Linked DNA regions of Homo sapiens: region 2 is linked to region 1. The links are contacts of gene promoters, found by promoter capture Hi-C in blood cells and fetal thymus (Javierre and others, 2016). All regions are on one chromosome and are shown on one strand. Each heading gives the region's core, a stretch centred on a gene start or on the middle of the fragment in contact. The rest is flanking DNA. Distances are from core to core; before and after follow the strand shown. Region 1 holds the start of FAM107B (family with sequence similarity 107 member B). Region 2 holds the start of LOC124902380 (a long non-coding RNA gene).

What was found. The method cuts DNA at HindIII sites, captures the fragments that hold promoters and counts their contacts. A CHiCAGO score of 5 or more calls a contact.
Region 2: a contact is called between a fragment that was not itself captured here and the fragment with the promoter of FAM107B in region 1, in 1 of 17 cell types (neutrophils). The highest score is 5.5, in neutrophils.

Annotation. Positions count from the first base shown.
Region 1 is chr10:14,771,564-14,777,131 of GRCh38, reverse strand. FAM107B (family with sequence similarity 107 member B) reads left to right here and starts at 2,235. Exons shown (of 5, transcript NM_031453.4): 1 at 2,235-2,879. The coding sequence starts at 2,469. The HindIII fragment of the contact is 2,997 bases long and covers 940-3,936 here.
Region 2 is chr10:14,485,712-14,491,490 of GRCh38, reverse strand. It overlaps LOC124902380 (a long non-coding RNA gene), which reads right to left and starts at 4,221. Exons shown (of 2, transcript XR_007062062.1): 1 at 4,095-4,221; 2 at 3,016-3,785. The HindIII fragment of the contact is 1,593 bases long and covers 1,675-3,267 here.

The sequences.
Region 1 (5,568 bases), core at 986-3,485:
TGGAAAGCAGGATTGCATACTGAGAAAAGTATGAGCTCTGGGGCCAGGTTGCTGGACTCATCACCTTTTCTCATTTCCTTAAGCAGTGCTGTGACCTTGGGCAAGTTACTTAAGTTTCTGTGTCTTGGTTTTCTAATGAGTAAAAATGGGAATAATAATATCACCTTTCTTCTAGGGTTGTGAGGATTAAATGAGTTAATTTGCTGAGATTCATGTCTGATACCAAACACTCAATAACCATGGCCTGTTACTGAGTGTTATTCTAGGTCAGACTTAGCAACACACTAATCAGAAAGTCTACTGTTCTTAGCGGGCCAGTGCTGGAACTCCGATGAGTTCATGCGTGCCTCTGAGCACACCCACTGAGCGAGGAGAGGTGGTCCTCAGAGCCCGGATGCAAGCCCAGGGCCTCCGCAGACCTAGAAAGTGGCTCTGAGCTTTCTTCCTCAGCGGTCTCCTGAATGTGGCCGCTCGCAAGCTGCACTGTGAACTGCTGACTCTCTGTTCCAAAAGGGGCTTGACACATAATTGAATGAATATATGAATGAGTGAATGAAACCAGGTGTAAGAGTGCATTTTTCTTTTCTTAAATCCCTTCCTGTTACCTCCAAGCCTTCAAAAATGTCTTATGCAGCATCACAGCCCCGATTTACTATACGTGTGCTTGGAGGGGCACAGCATGGCACGACCCGACCCGAGTGGACTGTAGCAACCAAGTCAAATGGGAGACAAAGTGCAGTTCCGAGGGGTCTCCAGGAATATCTGGGAGGGGGGACCCTGGTAGAAACCTGAACCCCCTGATTTCTTATGGGTGGGGAATTTGGACAGCTTGCACTTGGGACACAATGAAAAAAGAATGAGCTCACAACCCTGGGAAGCCAGAAACAGCTTGGATAGCACGGGGCCTGCCACACGGTAACCTCTAAATAAATGGAAGCTTTCTATATTCTAACTTTCAGTAGAGACTAAAATAAAATGTGCATTTGATGCCATATCCACTCATTCTAAAGCCATATCTGCCTTTTTGTATTATGAATATGACTGTCCATTTAGAACAATATTTCCCGTATGGCCATTACATCTATAAAATGATTGTTAGATAGAATGAGACTCAGAGGACAGATAGGAGAACAGGGATCTCGGGCACCCAACAAGCCCTTCTTAGTGGCATAAACTTGCCTTAGTCACATGAAATTTCAAAGAATTGGTTTCTGCCTCTGTAAAACGGGAATCAGTGCCATAATATAATAACTACCACCTGTCTGGGCCAAAGAGCACATCTTGACATTAAATTAAAAGAGAGAGCAAACAAATTAATTAAGAGTGGGTAACATGCCCAGAAATCTTGACCCTAAAATCACTATTAACGGTAAAAGCATTACAGTATTACATTTCTATAACATTCCTAGCAGACAGTTGGCTAAGGAAAAATCTTGATTCTGAATTGTCTTAGAATATGTTTATAATTTATTATTTTTCACCATTCACATATTAATGTGTTGAGAAACAGAAGATCTATGTTCAAAAAGGAGTTACTTTCTGAAAGTAGGTGATATATACCATATAGGTAGAATACTTCACATGTACATAATACCTCCACACATAATAACATAATACATAAGGATAATTGTTAATGTAGGGCTCTCTTTTTTCTTTTTGGTATTGTTGAAAACTAATCAAGAACTTAGCCTAGCTAGTAAAAAAAAAAAAATCAAATTACCAAAGACCTATTTATAGTTATCAGAAAAGGCAATGTGGATCCTGAAACCAGGAAACTTGTTTTGAGGGTGGGGGGAAGATTCCGGGAAGATTCCGGAAAGATCCCGAAAAGTCCAGAAAGATTCAGAAAACACATCACACCGCATCTCTCCAGGCGAAAGATTGAGTCTACCTCCTATTTTAATAATGAAACAGCTGCTAGGGTCGTGGCCCTTCTAGGGGTCTTCATTTGTGATGGACAACTGGGTCGTTTTTGTTTTGTTTGGGGGAATAAATATTTGAAGGGGGGTAACCAAAGAAGGTTTTGCTGCTGTTATGATGTTATTGATACGCAGGCTGACGCTATTATGGCAGATGCTATCAGGCTACATTATCTTTATGCCTCCTAGGTAACCTGAAGCAATTGTCTATTGACTTGGCACTACCCTACCCTGAAGCGTCTGCCCTGCCTAGGAACTGTAACCGGAGCCACTCACATGCCTCCCCAACAGCTTTCTTTAGCCACTGACAGCATCACAGAAGGAAGAGCGCGAAATTGCCCAGGATGGACACTTTCAAAGGGGCCCCAGCGGCTAAGTGACTCTCAGGGAAGGTGGCCTTGCCATCCCAACTTCTATTTAGGGGCAACCACTAGCAAGTTCTTCTCTTCGGGCAATTGGAAAGAGTTCCTATAAGCAAAGTGGAGGTGATGTGGACCCCTGGAAAATTTCCTTGCCCCGTTTGAACTTTGCAATGATTCACTGCAAGTCATGTCCACGTGGAAAGCAAGACTCACCAAAAGACTGAAGTCTCCCTCTAGAAGCATGCATCCATTTCCGTGCTCAGCTCTGCTCGCCTGTTTTGGGAATACGAGGGAGAGTGCTTCCTTCAATCAGTCCGGCGTGGCTGATACTCATTCCACCGTCCGTGTGCAGCCTGTGGCCAAAGCAGGCAGACAGCCAAGACACCCAAGCGCAGAAGGAGCTCCAGAGAAAAGGCAAGATTCGAGCACCCATGCAGAGAGAAATGGCAGTGCGAATCGGAATTCAAGTCACCGCACTGCGGCCCAGCCCGCGGAGACGCCTGAAGATGTGCCCGGGTCCCTGGATGATGGGGCGGACTGTGAAGCAGTGGTGTTTCACGCTTCCATCCCCAGACCATCAATTATTGACACGCCCAAGGTGAGTGAGTGTTCGCTCTGCGATTATAGACGGGATGGAGCTGGAGGAGCGTTGGGATCATGTGGCGAATGTTTCAGCAAACAAACTCATTTAACCTTACTGAATAAGGCATTGCGGGCGTTCTCACTAGTGCGAAGAAGTGTGTTAAAGCCGTGTAGATTCTCAGAGTGTTCTCAAAAGATGTGGATGAGGCAATGATAATAAGCACTGGAGCCATGGCAATGACCGAAGGTAACCTTGAATTAACGGGCTAGGGTGCCTTAGAGCCAAAAATGGCTCACTCAATAACAGATTAGGAGTAAGATAGTTTACAAAAACATTTTTTTCCTTTTTCTATTTCCCCCTCCACCCCCACCGGTCTGTCAATTTATTTATATGAAAATCCACAATCTAAAAAGTTTGGCTAGGGAATTCACAAAACTGCCTCTACTTAAAATGAATCACATGATATCAAAGCAGTCTGGAAAAATTTGGAAATGATCATCAGTGTATGCCTAGTGGTACGGAAGGGAACTGACCTATAAAACTATTCATAATATGGATGTTTTTGTGATAATCTTCTGAGAGTTGAAGGCAGGAGGAGGAAGTTATTTAAAAAAAATGGTGCCACTGCTCTTAAGAGTTATTTACTTATTTTCTTTCCATTTTTGGCATCAGTGAATTTTAATTGTTGAGTATTCTGATTAGATGGAGCTGTACAATTATTTCAAAGTTCCCGGTAATCCCAGTTTGCAGATGCAGTGTAGAGGAAAGGTTTTCTAAAAGGTACACTCCAAAGATATCTCTTGACCATTTTTGGTCATTTCCTAGCCAAGTAGCTTAGGACCAGACTTAAAAAACTGAGAAGTCTTTGGGGATCCATCACTAAAGTATTCTGATTTTTTAAATCATTTTTCCACATCCGTTTAACAAATTATTTTTTGGTCTGGCTTGCTTCACAGAATCTAAGAAGCCTCCTTAGCAAGAACACAGCCAACCAGCAAAGATAGGGTTAAAACATCATTTAAAAAATAGTTTCATTTGACACCCTGCAGGTTTATATGAAATGACTGAAGCTTGGGTCTGTCGTCTGCATTCTGAAATTGGACAGAGAGTTTTACCATATCCTCTGTCACAGCAAAAACTGCTATGTTTTTTTCTAGCACCACTAAACCAAAGCCCATAACCAACCAGCAAAAACCAAAATTTTCAGTGTATAGCCACATCCAGATTAAGATATTTTTGGTAGTATTATAGGTAGCTGATTAGAATTCATGGCCAAGTTGATATTTGTTGGATATTTATGGTACCAATGATGTACAGTTTTAATGAACCGGAAGACTTTCTGTTGAGCAATGCAGACCCACCTTATATTACTGAAGACAGCCGCAAGAACAAAGGGTTACTTTGATTTTATCTTTCTGTTTTAGTTGCACATGGGACTCAGGGACTCAAGGCAAGCATGTGAATTCAAATAGAACCAATAACACAAAATGGGGCCACATCCATGTTTAGTGTCCACTTGGCAGGAGCAAAGCCATGGGTGGTCCACAGCGTAGGATGGATTACAGTTGGGAAGCCCGGAGCAGAGAGGACATTGTAACAATCCAGACAGGAACAACAGGGAGATAAAGTGGGAGGGGCTCCATGAGGCAGGACACGCGGCAGTTGACTGTGCGGTCCAAACCAGGCAGGGAGGGAAGCAGTGATGCAATGCAAACACTGAAATCAAGTGCCAGGAGGTGCAGGAAGAGGGCCTGATGTGGGTAAATGGGCATCTATTCTAGTTCAAACACCGAGAGCTAAGCTGTGCAGAGCACTTGTAGTTCGCTAGCCCTTATTCTAAGTGCTTTACACAGAGTATCTCAGCCAACCCTGGTGACAGTGAGGTGCATATATATATATATATATTTTTTTTTTAAGATGGAGTCTTGCTCTGTCTCCCAGGCTGGAGTGCAGTGGCACGATCTTGGCTCACTGCAGCCTCTGCCTCCCAGGTTCAAGCAATTCTCCTGCCTCAGCCCCACGAGTGGCTGGGACTACAGGTGCCTGCCACCAGGCCCAGCTAAGTTTTTGTATTTTCAGTAGAGATGGGATTTCACCGTGTTAGCCAGGATGGTCTCGATCTCCTGTCCTCATGACTCCCCCGCCCAGCCTCCCAAAGTGCTGGGATTACAGGAGTGAGCCACCATGCCCGGCCAGTGCATATTCTTATGGTGCCCATGTTACAGAGGAGGGCATGGATGCTTAAAGAGGGTAAGACATTTGCCCAAGGCCACAAAGAGAGGATGTGGCAGAGACAGGACTGGAACCCACTTCTGTTTGACTCCAAAGTCCATCCTCTGAATTATAATGTGCTTCTACTACTAATTAATTGTGTAGTGTTTGAGGATTTAGGATCAACTATTCATATGTGATCTCGCTTGATACTCAATCACATTTAAATATCATACATATTGGCTGGGCATAGTGGCTCATGCCTGTCACCCAGAGCTTTGGAAAGCCAAGGAGGGAGAATCACTTGAGACCAGAAGTTTGAGACCAGCCTGGGCAACATAACGAAGGTTCATCTCTACAAAAATGAATAAATTAATTCCATGTATTTATATGTTGATGTCGATATAATTATTATTTGTTTTTTAATTTATTTTTATTTGTTGTTATTTTAATTGATATATCACAGTTGTATATTTTTTGGGGTATGTATACA
Region 2 (5,779 bases), core at 1,222-3,721, 290 kb after region 1:
TTCCCTTGAAAAACCCCATTCCCATAAAAGCTAAACAAATGGGGGTGAAGTGGAGGATAACCCACGCATATCAAATTACTTTTCACTTTCACTTTATCAGTGCTAATTTCTTTTGGCCCTAAGCTCACTTTTCACATCTGATTTAAATGTTTAAACTATGTTTCTGCTTTGGAGAGCTAGGAGACATTGGAGTGTGCCCACTGTAAGTTGGAATGTCCTTTGTTCTTGGAGACGGTACTTTAGGATGCTCCTGCCAGAAATTTGGAAGAAAGGCCTTTGGACCATTTGATGAGGTAGAATCTATGCAGCCATGTCCTAGTCCAATCAGCTTTCCCTGTAAAGGATTTTATTATTGTTTTAATAGGAAGAATGTGTTCTTTGAAAAGAGCATCACGTGAGGAAAATGATAAACATCGAGTAAGAAAAATTTAAATTCTTTCAAATCAAAGACTTTATCATTTAAGTCCCTCCTCCCTCCCAAGTCACTGGTCATGCCTCATGCATTTTGCAGCCCCAGTGCCTGGCATGGTGCTCAGCCATAGCCTCTAGCAGGGGCTCACTGAATCCTGTTGAATGAGACAAATGTGAGGGCAAGTGTCCAGGCTTTGATTATTGGTTTGCCCCAACCACACTTTCAGAATCCCTGAATGAAGAGACTTTTTCTTTAGCTTGCTAATTTGTGAATTTTGAGTGGAAAAAAGTAACAAAAGCACAAAGCAATAAAGTCATAAATAACCTTAGAATTGAGTTAGTTGAGATTAAGACCTTAAAGGCTCAAGGTTCTGTTGGCATTGAAATGAAAAGCTGTTGTGCTAATTAACGTGAAATAGCACATTATACATATCATTATTAAAGTGAAATGTGCATACTGTATAACAGGTGAGTTTGGACAGCTGTAAAGGTAATTAAAACAGATGTCCTGCATCATTAGGCTTCAAACACCTGCATTAGATCTGAAGGAGGTACTAGGAGCACCTCCCATGATGGCTGTAGAAACAAATTTTTGTGTCATGAGTATAGAAGAAAAACAGTATCTGTTCATGGAGGACACTCCTTGTGTTTTCCCAAACACAGATTTCCATAAAATATAAACCACAAGAACAAGGATTTAAAGCAATGTGCAGCCAGTGAGAAATATTTTTTCCCTTTTCCTTTTTGTTTAGCTGTTTATTAAATTGAATAATTCTGAAGCCCGTCTTCCCACACTCCAGGCATACCATTTGGGGACAGGCAGGCACAGATATATGCCTCGGAAGCCCAGGAGGTTGAGAGCCTGGATAATTTTTCCTGATGAGGGTTGCAGCTCTTCCTGGGTTGCTTGAGAACTTCCTTGGCTTCTGAAACATCCAAGTGCCCCGGGAATTAACATCTTTGCCTCCTCATGAACCCATCAAACCAAGATCCAATTGCATCAGCAAGTGTACTTCTTACTGTGTATAGGTAGTAACTCTTCTTTCCTTTCCTTTCTTTTCCTTTCTTTCCTTCCTTTCCTTCCCTCCCTCCTTCCCTTCCTCTTCCTTTCCTTTCCTTTTCCTTCCTTCCCTCCCTCCCTCCCTCCTTCCCTCCTTCCTTCCTTCCTTCCTTCCCTCCTTCTCTTTCCTTTTCCTTTGTCCTTTAATTCTTTCTTCTGCTCTTGTTTTGATTTATAAAGACAAGAGTGTTGTGGCTGAAGCTTCTGTGGCCTTCACACTTGATTCTACAAGAATTTGCTAAAAACCCCATAGCAGCCTAGAAAATCATCAATCATCTTTTGGATGACATGTGTCAGGCCACTGTTCCCTCTTTTACTGGAAAAGAGGCTTTCAGCCAGCCAAAGGGTCAGGGAGCAAAGCAGAGTGACTATGACATGCAATTGCCTTCCAATCTGGAAAGAAATGCCATGTGCCACAGAGGCAGTGGGAGATCCTGGCTTTCCAGCTATACAGGGCAGGTGTGAAATCCTGTCTCATCTGTGCATTCACTTAAAAAACAGTCGATTGCATACTGTCAACTTAAAAATCACCCAATCTATACATTTGGAAAGGAGATCTTATTTATTATAAAGGGTTATAGCCTGCAAGGTGGTCATCTTGACTGGCTGGGAAGCACAGCCTAATATGCTATTCAGTGGAAATAGCGTATAAGACTGAAAAATAATATTATCAACCCCAAGGCAAGCACTTGGAGGAAATGAAACAGGAATTTATGTTGAATGGGTTGGTCTACAGATTACAGGAAAAGCTAAGCATTATCACAAAGTGAGGGCACATGCATGATAAGCAAACATGCACGTTACATGTATTCCATGTTCACTTTGGGGCAGAGACTTAACATTTAAGTGTATTCAAGTTAGACCCTATACATCAAAAGGTGAAGCAGGGACACCAAGATCCAATTGCATCAGTGAGTGGACTTCTTACTGTGTATAGGTAGTAAACCTTTCCCTCCCTCCCTCCCTCCCTCCCTTCTTTCCTTCCTTCCTTCCCTCCTCCCTAGCTTCCCTCTGGCACTGAGTGCACAGCCTCTGTAAACTGGCCACAACCAGTCTACGGTCAGCAGCCTCTGATCAGGACAAAGTTACTGAAATCAGTCTCTTCTCCAATCAAAGCTGTAGTGATGGCTGGTGGGATGGGGGTCAGTTAATCAGCATCTGGAAGTACACGAGCTGCAAATTTTTTTTTTTTTAGATGGAGTCTCGCTCTTGTTGCCCAGGCAGGAGTGCAGTGGCGCGATCTTGGCTCACTGCAGCCTCTGCCTCCTGGGTTCCAGCGACTCTCCTGCCTCAGCCTCCTGGGTAGCTGGGATTACAGGTGCCCGCCACCACGCCTGGCTAATTTTTGTATTTTTAGTAGAGACGGGGTTTTGCCATGTTGACCAGGCTGGTCTCGAGCTCCTGACCTCAGGCGATCTGCCCGCCTCTGCCTCCCAAAGTGCTGGGATTACAGGTGTGAGCCACTGCACCTGGCTGCAATTGTTTTCATATTGCTTATGTCAAGGCCAGTGTTTGTTTAGCTGCTAGAGAAAAATGAAACCTTGTGGCCGTTAGAACATAGTTTATTCTTTTAAAGTGTAGGGTGTGTGGCTTAACCCTTGCCTGGCAAGGCTTTAGGTCCTGTTCATAATTTGGTATCTTATGGCCACAAAGCATCCGTATCCCATCAGTCTGATGATTTCTATTTTAACATGAATGCTGGTCAGTTGTTGTAGCTAAACCACAAAAGGGAAGGGGTATGACAAGATGTGTCTGACCTCCTCTTCCGTCATGGCCAGGAACTTCGTTTTTAAGCTTTTTCTGAGATTCCCTTAGCCAGAAGCGGGTCCATTCACTTGATTGGAGGTCTCTTGTTTTCTTACAGTGTCAAAACTTGACTAGTTGTTTATAAGAAAACATGGAACTGTGGTCATTCTCCAGTTCTCGGTACTATGGGCCAAGTCCTGTTATAGGCACTGGTGAGGTATCAGTAGATACACCAAGTTTACTGTCATCATCACAGAGCTTGCTAACTAGTAGAGGCAGCTAGATAATAGACAAAGTGAGTACATTACTATATTTTGTTGATTCTTAGAAGCATGATGTTTCACATTAGCAACTTTGAAACTGGGGTGCATTCTATAATCGCTGGCATCTTATCATTGCTGCTGGCCGGGCAGCTGCCTTTAAGGAATTGCCATTTCCCCCGAAGTTGCAAACCTGAGAAAAGCTGCTCATAGTGTTCCTGCTTCAGCTCAGCTGGGCTCTTTGCCAGTACTATGCGTAAAGGATTTATTTTGCCATTCAAATGTCTTCAAAAAGATTCCACGATGATCTGAAATTGAAACAAAAGGTTATTGTGTACATGGAGAGGCATGGAAACCCAAAAGCAAGTATTCATCTTTGGGAGAGTGACCACAATTCCGTGTTTCCTTATAAACAACCAGTCATGTTTTGACACTGTAAGAAAAGAAGATACCCGCAAGAGGGTGAAGCTTTGTCATGTCTTACTACTGAGCTATGTTTGCAAAAGGACTGCCTATCACATGCAAAGGTTTTCAAGGCATGAGAAGTCTCTTAAAATCTCCAAATTAGTAAAAAAAAAAAAAATTGGTGAGGTGTTGAGGTAAGAGGCAGGACTCACCTCCAGAGGTGGAGCTCGGACACCAGATCAGATTGAGGACTAGCTGAAACAGGGCCAGGATGAAAGCAGCATTCAATCAGACCCACCCACCAGTGTACCAGGTCAATTTACTGTTGCCATGGCAACACTCGGGAGGTACTGCCTCTTTCCACGGCACCCAACCATCCAAAAGTTACTACCCCTCCCGTGCATAAACCACTCCTTAATCTGCATGCAGCTAAACGTGTGTATAAATATGGCTGCAAAATTGCCCTGCCCTGAGCTGCTACTCTCTGCCTACTGGGTAGCCCTGCTCTGCGGGGGCAGTCACAGAGTTGTAACGCTAAGACTGTTTTCTTTTACTTTTGGCTTGCCCTTGAATTCTTTCCTGGGCAAAGCCAAGAAGCCTTGTGGGCTAAGCTCCATGATGGGGCTCAGCTGCCCCGCATCAGTGTGACCTAATGTCAAGGCCATGACTCAGTTAGCCGCCCTTCTCTTTTGTTGACATAAAACGTAATAGTGTGCGTCAACATTCATGTCTTACATGAAATATGATGTGTTGTGTGTTAGAAATATTATGGAGGAGGTGAAACGGGGAGCACTGTGGGGAGGAGGATGCAATTTTAAGTGATGTGGCCGTGGTAGTGCTCACTGAGAAGGTGATGTTTGAGCGAAGACCTAGAGGGGTCCAGGGAATGAGCTATGTTTCCTTCTAGAATAGAATATTTCGGGAAAAACAACAGCAACAACCAACCAAACAAAGAAATTCCACAAACAAATTATGTAAGGGTATACTTTAGCCAAATACAAAATAATTTAAAGCTTTTATGGGGAGGGAAGCTCCATGAAGACAGAGGTTTTGTCAGTTTGTAACTATAGATTTTCACGCAGGGCACGCACCAGGCACTCAGTCGATGTTTGTGGAATAAACGAATAAACTTTTAAAAGGGAAATAAATGCTACATTATATAGTGAGCAATAAAACCATTAACACATTTAAATGTAGTTGATAGTATAGTTTGTGAGGTTTAACACATTTTCAAAATATTTGAAAGAATAAGCAGTATATGTCATTAGGGAATTGTAAATTCAAAAAATGAAATACTATTACGCACCTATTGAAATGGTCAGAATCCAAAACACTAACACCAAATGCTGGCGAAGATTTGGAACAACAGCAATTCTCACTCATTCTGGAGGAATGCAAAAATGGCACAACCACTTAGGAAGACAGTTTGGCAGTTTCTTACAAAATGAAACATACTCTTACTATGTGATCCAGCGTTCACGCTCCTTGGTATTTACCCAAAGGAATTGAAAGCTTATGTCCACACAAAAACCAATGCACAGATGTTTCTGGCAACTTTCTTCATAATTGACAAAATTTGCAAGCAACCAGGATGTTCTTCCATAGATGAATGGATAAACCGTGGTATGTCCAGACGATGGGATATTATTCAGTGATGAAAAGAAAAGGTGCTATCAAGCCAACAAAGGCATGGTGGAACCTCAAATGTATATTACTAAGTGAAAAAGCCAATCTGAAAAGGCTACATACATACTGTGTGATTCCATCTATACGACATTCAGGAAAAGGCAAAACTATAGAAGATAGTAAATAGATCAGCGGTTGCCAGGGGTTGGGGAAAAAGAAGGATAAATAGGTGGAACATAGACGATTTGGGGGCAGCGAAACTGTTTTGTAA